Linked DNA regions of Homo sapiens: region 1 is linked to region 2. Evidence: promoter capture Hi-C in 16 types of primary human blood cells and fetal thymus (Javierre and others, 2016). All regions are on one chromosome and are shown on one strand. The core of a region is centred on a gene start or on the middle of the fragment in contact, and the rest is flanking DNA. Distances in the headings are between cores, read along the strand shown.

Evidence for each region. Contacts are between HindIII fragments. The CHiCAGO score rates a contact against its expected background, and 5 or more counts as called.
Region 1: a fragment that was not itself captured here is called in contact with the fragment with the promoter of EREG in region 2 in 4 of 17 cell types (activated CD4 T cells, non-activated CD4 T cells, naive CD4 T cells and 1 more); the score reaches 7.2 in activated CD4 T cells.

The regions. Positions count from the first base shown.
Region 1 is chr4:74,694,123-74,700,147 of GRCh38, reverse strand. No RefSeq gene overlaps it. Among named protein-coding and RNA genes, the nearest start is that of BTC, 97 kb to the left of the region's middle. The HindIII fragment of the contact is 7,353 bases long and covers 1-6,025 here.
Region 2 is chr4:74,361,889-74,367,528 of GRCh38, reverse strand. It overlaps EREG (epiregulin), which reads right to left and starts at 2,384. Exons shown (of 5, transcript NM_001432.3): 1 at 2,154-2,384. The coding sequence starts at 2,220. It overlaps LOC105377276 (a long non-coding RNA gene), which reads left to right and starts at 2,188. Exons shown (of 3, transcript NR_188415.1): 1 at 2,188-2,378. The HindIII fragment of the contact is 3,301 bases long and covers 1,867-5,167 here.

The DNA.
Region 1 (6,025 bases), core at 1,294-3,793, 330 kb before region 2:
ATGTTCAGAAGACATAATCTTCGTAAACATAAATACATACTATAACCTGTTTTTTTACTTAGGAAAAAGTTATTAATTATGTCCTATATTATTGATATGTCATACACCAGAATTTCCCAAACTTTGTTCTAGTGAAACCAGGGCATTGAAATTGATAATGAAATAAGTGAGGGAAATGCAGTATCCTGTACTTCCTTAAATAAAGTAAGCTGTTTAATTTGCTTTAACTTGGTGTTTCCCAAACCATTGTTCATAGGACTGACTTTTGATCAAAATCTTTTAACACACTTTGATAAATACTCTTATTTCTAAAACATATACTTTAATGACTGGAGCATGTAGTCCACATTATGTCAGTTAAGAATTAATTCACATCCAAATGGCAGAAGATTCAATCACAGTAGTTCCACCAGATAGGAGTTTATTTTTCTCATGTCATAAGAAGCGTGGCTCTGGAGCAGCTTCTCAATGGTGTCATAGGAGCTCTTTCTGTCTCGTTCCACCATTTTAAAATTTCTACTTCACTGTTGTAAAATGCCTGCTACACCTCCAGGTATTAATTACCTAGTCTAGGCAAGAAGAAAAAGGAAGGGGTCAGGAAGACGGAAGGACCAAAGGGAACGACAGCCTTTGGCCAGACTGTCCCTTAAAAACCAATCATATTTCTTGGAAATCTCACCAGTAACTTCTACCCATGCCTCATTGGCCAGTTCTGGGCTACTTGATTACCCTGAGCTACAAGCATGTCTGGGAAGGTGAGTGCTTTAGCTTTCCAGCCCCCGCAATTGAGGAGGTCAGGAGAGGGGCATAGGGAAGAGCCTTTGGATAGACAAACCACCACATTTACCTTTACCCATTCCCTTGGCTACCCAACATTCCCAGGCCCTTGTTCCTCATTATTGCGGGTCTCTCGCCTTTCCAGTGAAGACCACACCAAAGTTTCATTCAGTTACCACATCCAGCTTGAAATTCAGGACCTCTGTGTGATATGCTGTCCTATTTGTCAAATCTGAGTGTAGCTTACGTTCTAGTGACTCATAAGTCAAAAGTTAATTATCTGTCTTCAATGTGTACAACATACAATGATGGAGAAAGAATTTTCATATAAAAAATGTGATAATGGCAAACAAAAAGCAGTTTCTATCTGTAAAAAATAGCAAATCTTGTTTGTTAAAAATTGCAGGGATAGGCCAGGCCCAGTGGCTCATGCCTGTAATCCCAGCACTTTGGGAGGCCCAGGCGGGTATATCACCTGAGGTCAGGAGTTCAAGACCAGCCTGGCCAACACAGCGAAACCCTGTCTCTACTAAAAATATAAAAATTAGCTGGCCATGGTGGCAGACACTTGTAATCCCAGCTACTTGGGAGGCTAAGGCAGGAGAATCACTTGAACCTGGGATGCGCAGGTTGCAGTGAGCTGAGATCGCACCATTGCATTGCAGCCTGGGTGACAAGAGCAAAACTCTGTCAAAAAAAAAAAAAAAAAAAAAAGAATTGTAGGGACCACCGGACTTGGAAAAGACTGCACTTCTTGGTTAACCAAACTGGCAGTTCCTAGTTCTGCCACAGTGAGATTCCTCATTGTTCATTGTCCTCCATGAACACAGGCAAGACGACTTTCTGGGAGCCTGCACATCTTTTTCAGGTCCTTCCCAGTGGTACAAGTTTAAGGACCCTAATCCCGCTTTATGGATTAAGCACTCACAAGGTTACCATTAGCCAGGGCTGGGATTCCTCTGTCACTACAGTTTCTTTAAAAATTTAGCTTTCTTGTCTATTTTCTCTGGATTAATTCCATGTGTGAAAAATCATAGCCAAAGACTTGTGTCTGGTGGCAGGCTCCTATGCCCATCCTTCTCTTCCTGAGATAAAAGTCATTATTACCTTAAGGCAAGGAGGAAAACAGTCTCTATTGGGGCACCTCATGTCTTTCATTTGGAAATAATCTTCTTGCCCAAACTCACACTTCTTTCTTTGCCTCCAGATATACCCCATATCATGGCCATGCCCTGGCTAAAATATCCACCCCCTACTTTTTCTACAAATCTTGCTCTCCTCTTTCATGTACATGCACAGGTCTGGTTTTAATAAGAGAAAATGCAACCTGAAATCAGTAGGCTCACAAGAAGAAAATGATTTAAGTTTTCTCCCACGACTTCCCTCCAACATTCTGTTTCTTATCTCCCTTCCATACCTTAGATGACATTTTAGGCAGAGCCCCACATACCTATTGGCTTCAGCTCTTAAATAGCAGTCATTTTTGTTGACTCTAAATTTCACCAAAGGCATTAAAAAGTGCAGTACAGTTAATATTTCAATGTCACATGCAATTAAAAATCTTCCTCCTCCCCGGTAATTTCTGTCCTGACTTTTGGCCTGGAGGCTGCTGTGGAAAGAGGGACCATGCCTGTTTTTCATTATTCCTTCACCCATACACTTTCCTGTTGCTGGCTTCAGGAACGAGGAAGTTGAAGTTTAGGGAAGAGAAAGGAAAAATTAAAGGAAGAGGTATAGAGTTGTATCTGCCTGGAGCTGTGGCGATAGGATAGTTGGTGTCTTCTGTTACCTTTGAGGGAGGCAGTGCACAAACAGCTGGTCTATTGTGAACTTCCCTTCACAGATGTACCCTCTGAAACCCTAGTGCACCTCACTCATTCTAGAAGTGACATGTTTGAATTAGATCTACTTCAACAGCTTATGCTTAACTATTTTCTGTGCCATCACTTAACTGGCAGGAAGAAGTTCACGCATATTTCACCACTAAATGGTGGGCGTATAACTGACCCAACTGTTGGCCACTTTATTGTTGCTCTGCTCTTCTCTACCACCGCAGCATTTCTTCTGCCTTTTGCATTCTTCATGTGGGAGACAGATATCAGTCTCTATGTTCTTGTAATTCTTACATTCATGGGGATCTATGTGATGTTTTTCCTCTTTAGCTCTCTCAGCATGTTTTTCTCCTCTTTAGTGAAAGCGCCTGGACTTGCATTTCTGCGGTTTGGTAAATAGGAATGAGGTGCTCATCTCTTCTTCCATCTCTAACAGAGGTTCTGGAGATTCTCTAACAGGGGTCCTTGTAAGGGAAGTCTTCCCTTACATGGCTTTCTTTACATGACTTAGGGAGAGGAAAGAAAACTGCCACTCACATCCCCCTGATGCTCCCTCTATCAATTCCCTTTTTGCGGCCCCCATTTTGAATGTCAATTTTCCTCTCATAGAGCCTAGAAAGAGTGATGTTCACAATACTGGGATGGCTTTTTTCTAATATCCTGCATGCAAATTGTAAAGAGTGATCTCTTCAAAGAGTGTAGGTCCTTATCACTAATGTCCTTAACTGCAGGAGTTTAGCCAAAAAATGCCAAGACCCCTGGGAAAGTCCCTTTTAACACCCAATAAATTTTACTGAGTGTTTTCCATATACCAGGCATTGCACTCAGGCATTGTATAAGTTCTTTCATTCTCATAACTCTATGGAGTGGATATTAATATTCCATTGTACAGATAAGAATATTGAGGTTTAGTTGAAGTGCTTACTCAAAGTCACACAGCAGACAAGTGTCTGAGCTGAAATTCAAAGCTCAGCAGTCTGATCCCAGAGCCAAGACCATTAAAACTAAGCTATCTTGTCTCCCTTTGTGTGTAAGCCCTCTGCATCCAGTAGGTTTTTCTGTATTAGACTGAGTGATAATTCTCTTGCTATAATCTCTCTAAGAAAATCCAGGGAAATCATTAGATTAGGAGTTGGACTATTTTTGTAAAGAAAGCTGAATTGGAACATGCCCATACCCATCTGTTTATGTAGTCTATGGCTGTTTGCATGCTATAGCTGCAGGGTTGGGTAGTGTGCCAGAGGCAGTATGGCCTTTAGGCTGAAAATATTGCCTATCTGGCTCTTTACAGGACAGGTCTTCTGAAGCCTGTCCTAAAGAATTAAGGAAGTTGACTCCGGCTCTGCAATTTACATAGTCTATTGTGCCACTTCAGGTGGTGTCCCTCTCAGCTATCTGTTTGCTCCCTGGGGTTGTTGTGAATATTAGCTGTGCAAATCTAAAATCTCCTCATTTGGGTTGTGCAAATCTAAAATCTCTCAGACTTTTAACAGACTTTTTAAGCTGAGAGTTGATAATGTGTTAGGTTGTACCATGTGAAATTGCCAATATCTGACTACCTTTGATCTACAAAAATGGTAATTTCATATGTTTTAACCAAAGTATTATGTAGTTTTCAGATGAAACAGACATAGAATTTGAATTCTGTGCTCTTCACTTATCAGAGATATGACTTTGGAAGACTTATTTAACTTCCCCAAATTGCCGTCTCCTTACCTATACAATGAAGAATAGTAACTTCTCTCTTCTCAGAATTGGTACAAGAATGGCGAGTATTATATAAAATATTTAGCAGGAAATAAAAGTTCTTAATAATCTATAACTGAGTTTTTATTGCTGTTTATTATATCATTATCAAGAAGGTGTAGATCAGGGAACCCCTTTCATAAGATTTTATGAGGTCTGGCCTTGCTGGGGGCAATTTACCTGCCTCTGTGTATATAGATTTCCCTAGGATTCTCCTTACCATATTTCCTTATTGACAGATCCCATATATGGGAACAGTTAGCTCCAGTCCAGGAGACCTGTATTCTCAGAGAAATCTAAAATTGATATGCTTTGGCTGGGATGGTAGTAGTGAGTATATGTAAATAAGATGGGTGACCTCTACCATCTGAAGCAAAACACAGGATATTGAGAAATAGTTTTAGAATTGACTAATTAGGTCATGATATCTCACCTCAAACTGATTTTTTTTTTTCTATTTCCCATCTAGTGGGTTAGGCCTCTTTTCTATAAACTCTCCTTTCTGTTCAACTAAATACTGGAACATACATTTATTGTCAGTCAATTTATTTGCACTCAGGAGCAGAAACTGTTAAACTGCCAATAACAGCTAGTGATACATCCTGTCTCCTTCAATCTAAGGCAGCTGTATTCTAGATTAAATATAAAATTGATCTGACTTAGCTGGGGCGATGGTGATGGGTATACATAATGAAGAACTGTGGTCTTCTAAGATGGAGAGAAGAATCCAGAGCTTAGAATTCTTAATGCTAAGTATAATGGAAATAAAGCATGCTCATTTAAAAGCTATAGGCTTTAAAATATTGGGAGAAAACATTATTTTATTTAGCAAAATACATTCTAACATCTTCGGGTTGTGAAACTTGATGTTCTTATAAGAAAAACACTGCAAATTGAAGTGTTGAGGTGGCTGGCAGCCATGAAAGGAAGGAAGATAGTGAAAGAGAAATAGAGAAATGAACAAGGAGCTAATAAAGCTAATGAAGTCTAGGCTTTGGGGCACCTCATTTGCATGAGCCCCTCCCAAGGCCCTGTATCTAATATTATATTTATAATTTTGTACTTGTTTGTCTTTTAAAAGGCCCCAGAATAGCACAAGCATCAGACCCTTAGGAAACAGTGAAACATGAAGGAAGAGAAAGAGGAGGAGGAGGAGTTGTTTCTAGTTGTGGGAATGCAGGAGAAAATTTTAAGAACCAGGAGAATTAATGTGGATTTTAGGCTGATTGCCTTGCTGCACTGAGATATAACTTCCTTTTGTAGTCACACTTTGGGTGACTATTTTAGGAAGTTTAAGAAGCAGGGAAATGTCCACTGTGAATGGGCACAGTGAGGGAAAGGGCCAGGGTGAACAAGACCTGGGATACCAGAGGTGGAGGTAAAAAATTTGGCAGGAGATGCATGGCAAAAAACCACCATAATCTCCCTTTGCCCTCCAATCTTTGGAGACACTGGACTTTCCATTATACATACTAAGGAGATATTTTTTCCTTTGTTTATATGTTAAAAAAGGCAATTCTCACAGGGTGAAGTGCTTGGCAGCCATGTGCATCCCTGACACTGGGATACGTCTTTAAATACAATGTAGGAGTATTTACTAATGCTCACATTTGGTTTAATCACAGGAATAGTCCTGGGAAGGGGGTAATGGTTAAATAAGCTGAGCCTTG
Region 2 (5,640 bases), core at 1,135-3,634:
TGAATAAAAATGTTTGATGTTAAATAGAAAGCCCCTGAACATAACTGCAGAATTCAACATAAAAATTTATCCTCCTCTCTTTAGAAAAATCACAAGATAAAAAAGACAAAATTCTGCTCTAAAATTATAGATTATTTAAAAAAATGTTATCCGGTATTTCAACTCTTCTACTTAATGTTCAGTAGGCCAAAAATGCTAGCAAGCCCAAGTGTGGACTCTCACTTTGTCACTATTTTTCTATGTGAACTTGGGTCACAGTTCCCCAATTTATAAAACAAGAGCCTCAATATTAAACAAGTGTAAAATTTAAAAGTAACCAAATGATTGTGCATAGCAATTTAAATCTGTATGTGTTAAGGGTGGAGGCTGGAACTTTATTCCCTAGTCATAACTACATAAAGCAGTTATAACATGTATGCTAAAATTTAAAATAAATGTCTCGCTCTTTTTTGCTGGGGGAAGGACAAGATTTGGGAAAAGTATTTTTAGGAAATATTTTGTTTGGGGGAAAGAAGGCAATTTCAGAAATAACAGGTGGTCTTGCCAAAATAAGGCTATGGGCTCTGCATAACTGAATAGAGTTTAGAGATATAATACAGAACTTGAAACAGGAACTTTCCTAGTGGCAGAGAAATATCCAAACAAACTGGGAAAACAGAAACTGACCTAACTCATTTGGAAATGGGCTTGGCAGCTGACGAAATAGATGAACTATAATTAAGTAATGCAATGAAGGAGGTAAGCACTTTCATGACAACAAACACACACACAACACACACACTAGTGGGTAGTAACCAGGTTATTCACAGGCTCTGGCTGTCTCAAATTAGAATATTCAATGAAACACCCAGAACAGACATGTGCATTGTTCAGATGCAACCTTACATGTGGGGAAAATAATAAGTGCTAAGTTATTCTGACCTCGAGGTTAATTTCTAACTCTAGGAAGACTGTCACCTTTCTAATTTAATTCTTTTCAAAACAAAGACAGCAAAGCCACATTGTTTACTGAGAATCTTCTAGCAAGTCTTTCTTAGCTCAGTTTTGGCAGAAACCACATATCTAGTTTCCACTTGTGTTCCTGGACTTAGACTTGTAAGTTTCAATTATGCATAGTATGCATTTCATTAGGTCTCTCAACCCCTGAGATAAGGTGTGCCAAAATAATAATTTAACAGTCACATCCTTCACAGGTAGAGTTAGAGTGTCTGGGGAATCAGCCTCATTCCAACTCCAGGGAGAATATGAGACTGGTGGTAACTTTTATTTTTTTATTAAGATATTCATATACGACTTCAAACTCTTTCAAATTCCTTAAACTGAAGTTTAAGGAATTGGAAAGAAGTAATTTTTTTTTAACAGAAAGGCTATTTAGAAAATTTTTCCCCTTGAACTAAATCATCTCAAATAGGAAGACTGGCATTTAAATACCCTCAGCGATCACAGGCTATGGAGTGCAATTAGCAGCAAGTGCAGAACGCTTGCTCCAGAGGCTGCTTGGGAGGCTGCAGGGAAAAACGCAAGCAGCAGGTGTAGGGGCGAAGGGCGGTGGGGAGCGCCAGGACCTGCCCAGGGCCCTTCTGCTCCAGATACCCTCGACCAGTGTTTTATTTCTCTTGTGTCTGGAGCTCAGCCAACTGGCACTGGCGCATACCAGCTCCTCCGGGAAAGCTAAACCAGGCTAGGTTTTAGAAAACTGAGCGCAAGACAGAGGAGAAAAGCTTTTTCCCCCCTCCAAAAAATTTCTTACGCTAGTTTCTATTCCCCACTCTCCAACAAAAAGGAACAAGACATGAAATGTTAACAGTGCGTTCCAGGCCTTTAGATTTCTAGGACTGGCAACTTTTCAAAAAAAAAAAAAAAGCTTTTTCAACAACTTTTTATTTTGTTTAATAAGGAGATATTTCAATCCATGCATAACATATATGCCAATAATTAATTCACCAATAAAAAGCATTTTAACATCGATCCCCAGTCCCCCCCACCCCAGTCCCACCATAGGGGAAGACAGACTCACAAAACAAGACGTAATTTTAAATAGAGCACACTTGAACCTGGAGACAACTCCGTACTTGTCGAATGACAAATGCACAGGAGCCTTCCTTATTTGTCTCCTCTTTGGGGCGGCCGGAAGCCAGAGGGGGAGAACTTACCCAGGCAGAGCAGCAGCGCAGGGACCCTGCCGGCACAGAGCATCTCCATCCTCCTCCCCGCGGTCATCGGCGATGGGAGCGGGCGCTGGGGCTTGGCGGAGGGCGGCTGCGGAGAGTGCACGGGCAGGGCGGGAGCAGACGGGCTCGCGGCAGTGGCTGGAGAGCGGCTGTCAGCCTAGAAGGGACCCCACGTTGGCTGTGTCCCTCTGACACTGGAAATATCAGGCAAGTGAGCTCAACTGTCTGGTGCTGCGAACTTTATACTAGGGAGCCCCTCCCGGGCCCTAACGGGGTGAGGTCAAGAGTGCCCAGAGTTTCATAATTGGCCCGAGGGAGGAGCGGCAGGAGGACCGTCAGGAAGTCATCCTCCCTCCCTGGAGCACCTGAGAGTAGTGGTTGAGGAATGAAAAAATGTCTTTCCGATTGGCCGGGGACTACTCCCGAAACTTTTCCATCTCCCTCCGGGAGGTGGGGAGCGTGGACCAGATGGCTTGGTTTGCTTTGTGGGGTCACCTGCCCTGTAGTGGGTGGTTTTGGTTGCTCAGGGTGACGGACATAACTTGAATCAGTCTTTTAGCCAAGGCTGGCGTTCCCCATACATGCCTTTGGAGAGCTGTGCGTGTGACTTACTAACCTCAGCCACGAAAACTCCCTTAACTTGAAGTCTGTCAGTGATTCAAGCGCCCTCCTTGCATTGAAACGCCACCGCCCAGAAAAGCCTTTCCCATCTGCGCCTTCCTTCTGAGACCCCTGCTTCCAATGTGGCTCAGGCATTTATTACCTCAAAGTCGAGTCATTGTGAAGAAAATTCCTGTTATTTTTTTTCCTTCTGTCGTATTTGCCATTTGTCAGGTTGCTGCTTTTGATATGACTTCCTACTAAGTAGTGCCTTAATCCTGTCGCTCCCCTGCACAAAACCTTTCAACGACTTCCTATTGCTTTTTGGACAAGGCCTGCCACAAACGTGAAGCCAATCGGTCTTTTCAACCTCAGCTCCCACTATTTCCCCAGGCAAATTGTCTGACCCCAGCCAGGCTGGAAAACTCTAAGCCTTTCCTCACTCCCACTTTCCTGCCTATGCTGATGGAGTCGTACTTTGAGGCAATGGCTACTTTTTAAAGGAATTAGTGAAATCCTGCTCAAATTCATGGTTCTCCTCAAGGGCCTGGGCTTCTTAGGCTTGTGGATCTCTTTTCATTCTGATCTCTTATAGCTTTTGTCGTTTATCTTCTCCCTAGCCTCATAGAATTCTAGACCCGGTACTTTACACCTGGGAAAGCTACTTTGTATTCCTTGACTTTTTTTTTGTTTGTAAGTCCTATGTTCAGCTCTGTACTGTGTAAATTGTCTTCCTTTTCACTGCACTCCTCTATAGGACCTAAGAACTGTGAGTCAATTCAGCAGTACTGTATGTAAATATACATATTTGAATAGAAAATGGAATCTAATGGATGTTAACTCCTTACCTTTTTATTTCTACTTTTTAAAAAATTATTATTACTATTCCTTTTTTTTTTCTGGCTTTTTTCTCTCATACTCTAAGGCCCTTTAATGTCCAGAATGCTCTTGTTAGAAACAAATACTTCGGCCGGGCGCGGTGGCTCACGCCTGTAATCCCAGCACTTTGGGAGGCCGAGACGAGCGGATCACGAGGTCAGGAGATCGAGACCATCCTGGATAACACAGTGAAACCCCGTCTCTACTAAAAATACAAAAATTAGCCGGGCATGGTGGCGCGCGCCTGTAGTCCCAGCTACACGGGAGGCTGAGGCAGGAGAATGGCGTGAACCCGGGAGGCGGAGCTTGCAGTGAGTCGAGATCGCGCCACTGCACTCCAGCCTGGGCGACAGAGCGAAACTCCGTCTCAAAAAAAAAAAAAAAAGAAACAAATACTTCATCATGTTATCAGGGGTTAAGATTTAAACTGTCTGTGTGTGAATTCCTGGACAAGTTATTTAATCTGTCTCAATTTCCTCATACGTAAAACAGGGATAATAATAGTATCCAGCGCATAGGAAAATAATGAAAGTGCTTAGTAGAGTGCCTAGTACCGAGTTAGTGCTCACTAAAAATACCTACCATTATATGCAAACGTTGATGCTTAAGATGGTGGTACTTGGTAGTTGGTCAATATTTGTAAGTTAAATGAATCAATGAACAGTAGGATAGAGGTAGGCTGGGTTCCTAAGTCTAGCTTCCAAATCTATCAAGAAAGCAGGCATTGAGTGACTTCTCACTTAATAGCTTATTTTGGAAAAGAAGAAATGGAACCAAGGAAAATGATATTAGAAATGGGTTATAGTTTTATGGAGCATTGGTAGAGATCACAAGTTTCATAAATTAGAAAGAGGTAAAGTGACTTTTATGGTTATATAATGGCTTTTGTCCTACAAATTGGATCTGGAAAAAAAAATAGTCCCAGTGTTTTTGAGGAATGGAAGCAGAATTCAAACGAATGGAATGTCAACTGGGAGCATTTTCTATCAGGTACTTGCAAAGAGTGAGAGGAAGAGTTTTTAATCCTGATTAATGGCTTGTTTCTTTAAATATAGTGTGTTTTATGCTGAAAAGAAAGATGGTGGGGATGTGATGGGGAGAATGGGTCATGCTGACAATAATTGACAACAGTCACTTCTATGGTATTGATATGTGAAGAGGAATTTTTTAACTTTGTAACTAATGCCTGCAAGCATGAGATATCATCACTGTGAAAAAAATCCCTGTGCTTGTCTCAAAATTTTCCACAGCAATGTACTCTTTTGTAGGCTGATTTTATATGATGTGAAGAAATCTTTTCTTTATTAGTTCTATGTTTACTCAATTTTCTAGCCATTAGATATTGAGAATGACTCCACCATGACACATCAGAGGATTTGCACGCACTGCCTCCGCAAAATAGTATTCTTCTTCTTTTTTTTTTTTAAATAATTGGGAACAATTTTCATTAATTGTTCATTTAAATATATATACATAGTATGCGGTATAATCATAATTCCTCTTAAAGGCACAAAGCTTATTTAAAGATAGAATGGTTTGGGAAGAAAATAACCGGGTCATATAGAATTTTCCAATTAGGAAGTCACTTTAATACATCAGCAATGTCAGCAATTCCCAGTTTGAGATGTACTGGGATTCCTTTCCAAGGGGTTGGTAAATCGAATTATCTATAGACTAAAGCGCGCGCACACACACACACACACACACACACACACACACATATATATACTATTTTAAACATACATTAAGTCTCTATGTAATTAGTAACATGTATTCATTTTAAATTGATATTGAATTCATAAACGCTTTGTGGCATGTGTTTTTTCGTTGATATATAACAAACATATAAGCGCCGTTAAATGGGGAAGAAGAGTCTTGCAAAAAATAATCCTTTTAAATTAAAAGGGAGTCCTCTCATGAGAAGAATTAGGAAATCCTAGACTGGGGACATACACACACAGGCCCCAAACTGATATCAGTATTAAACCTA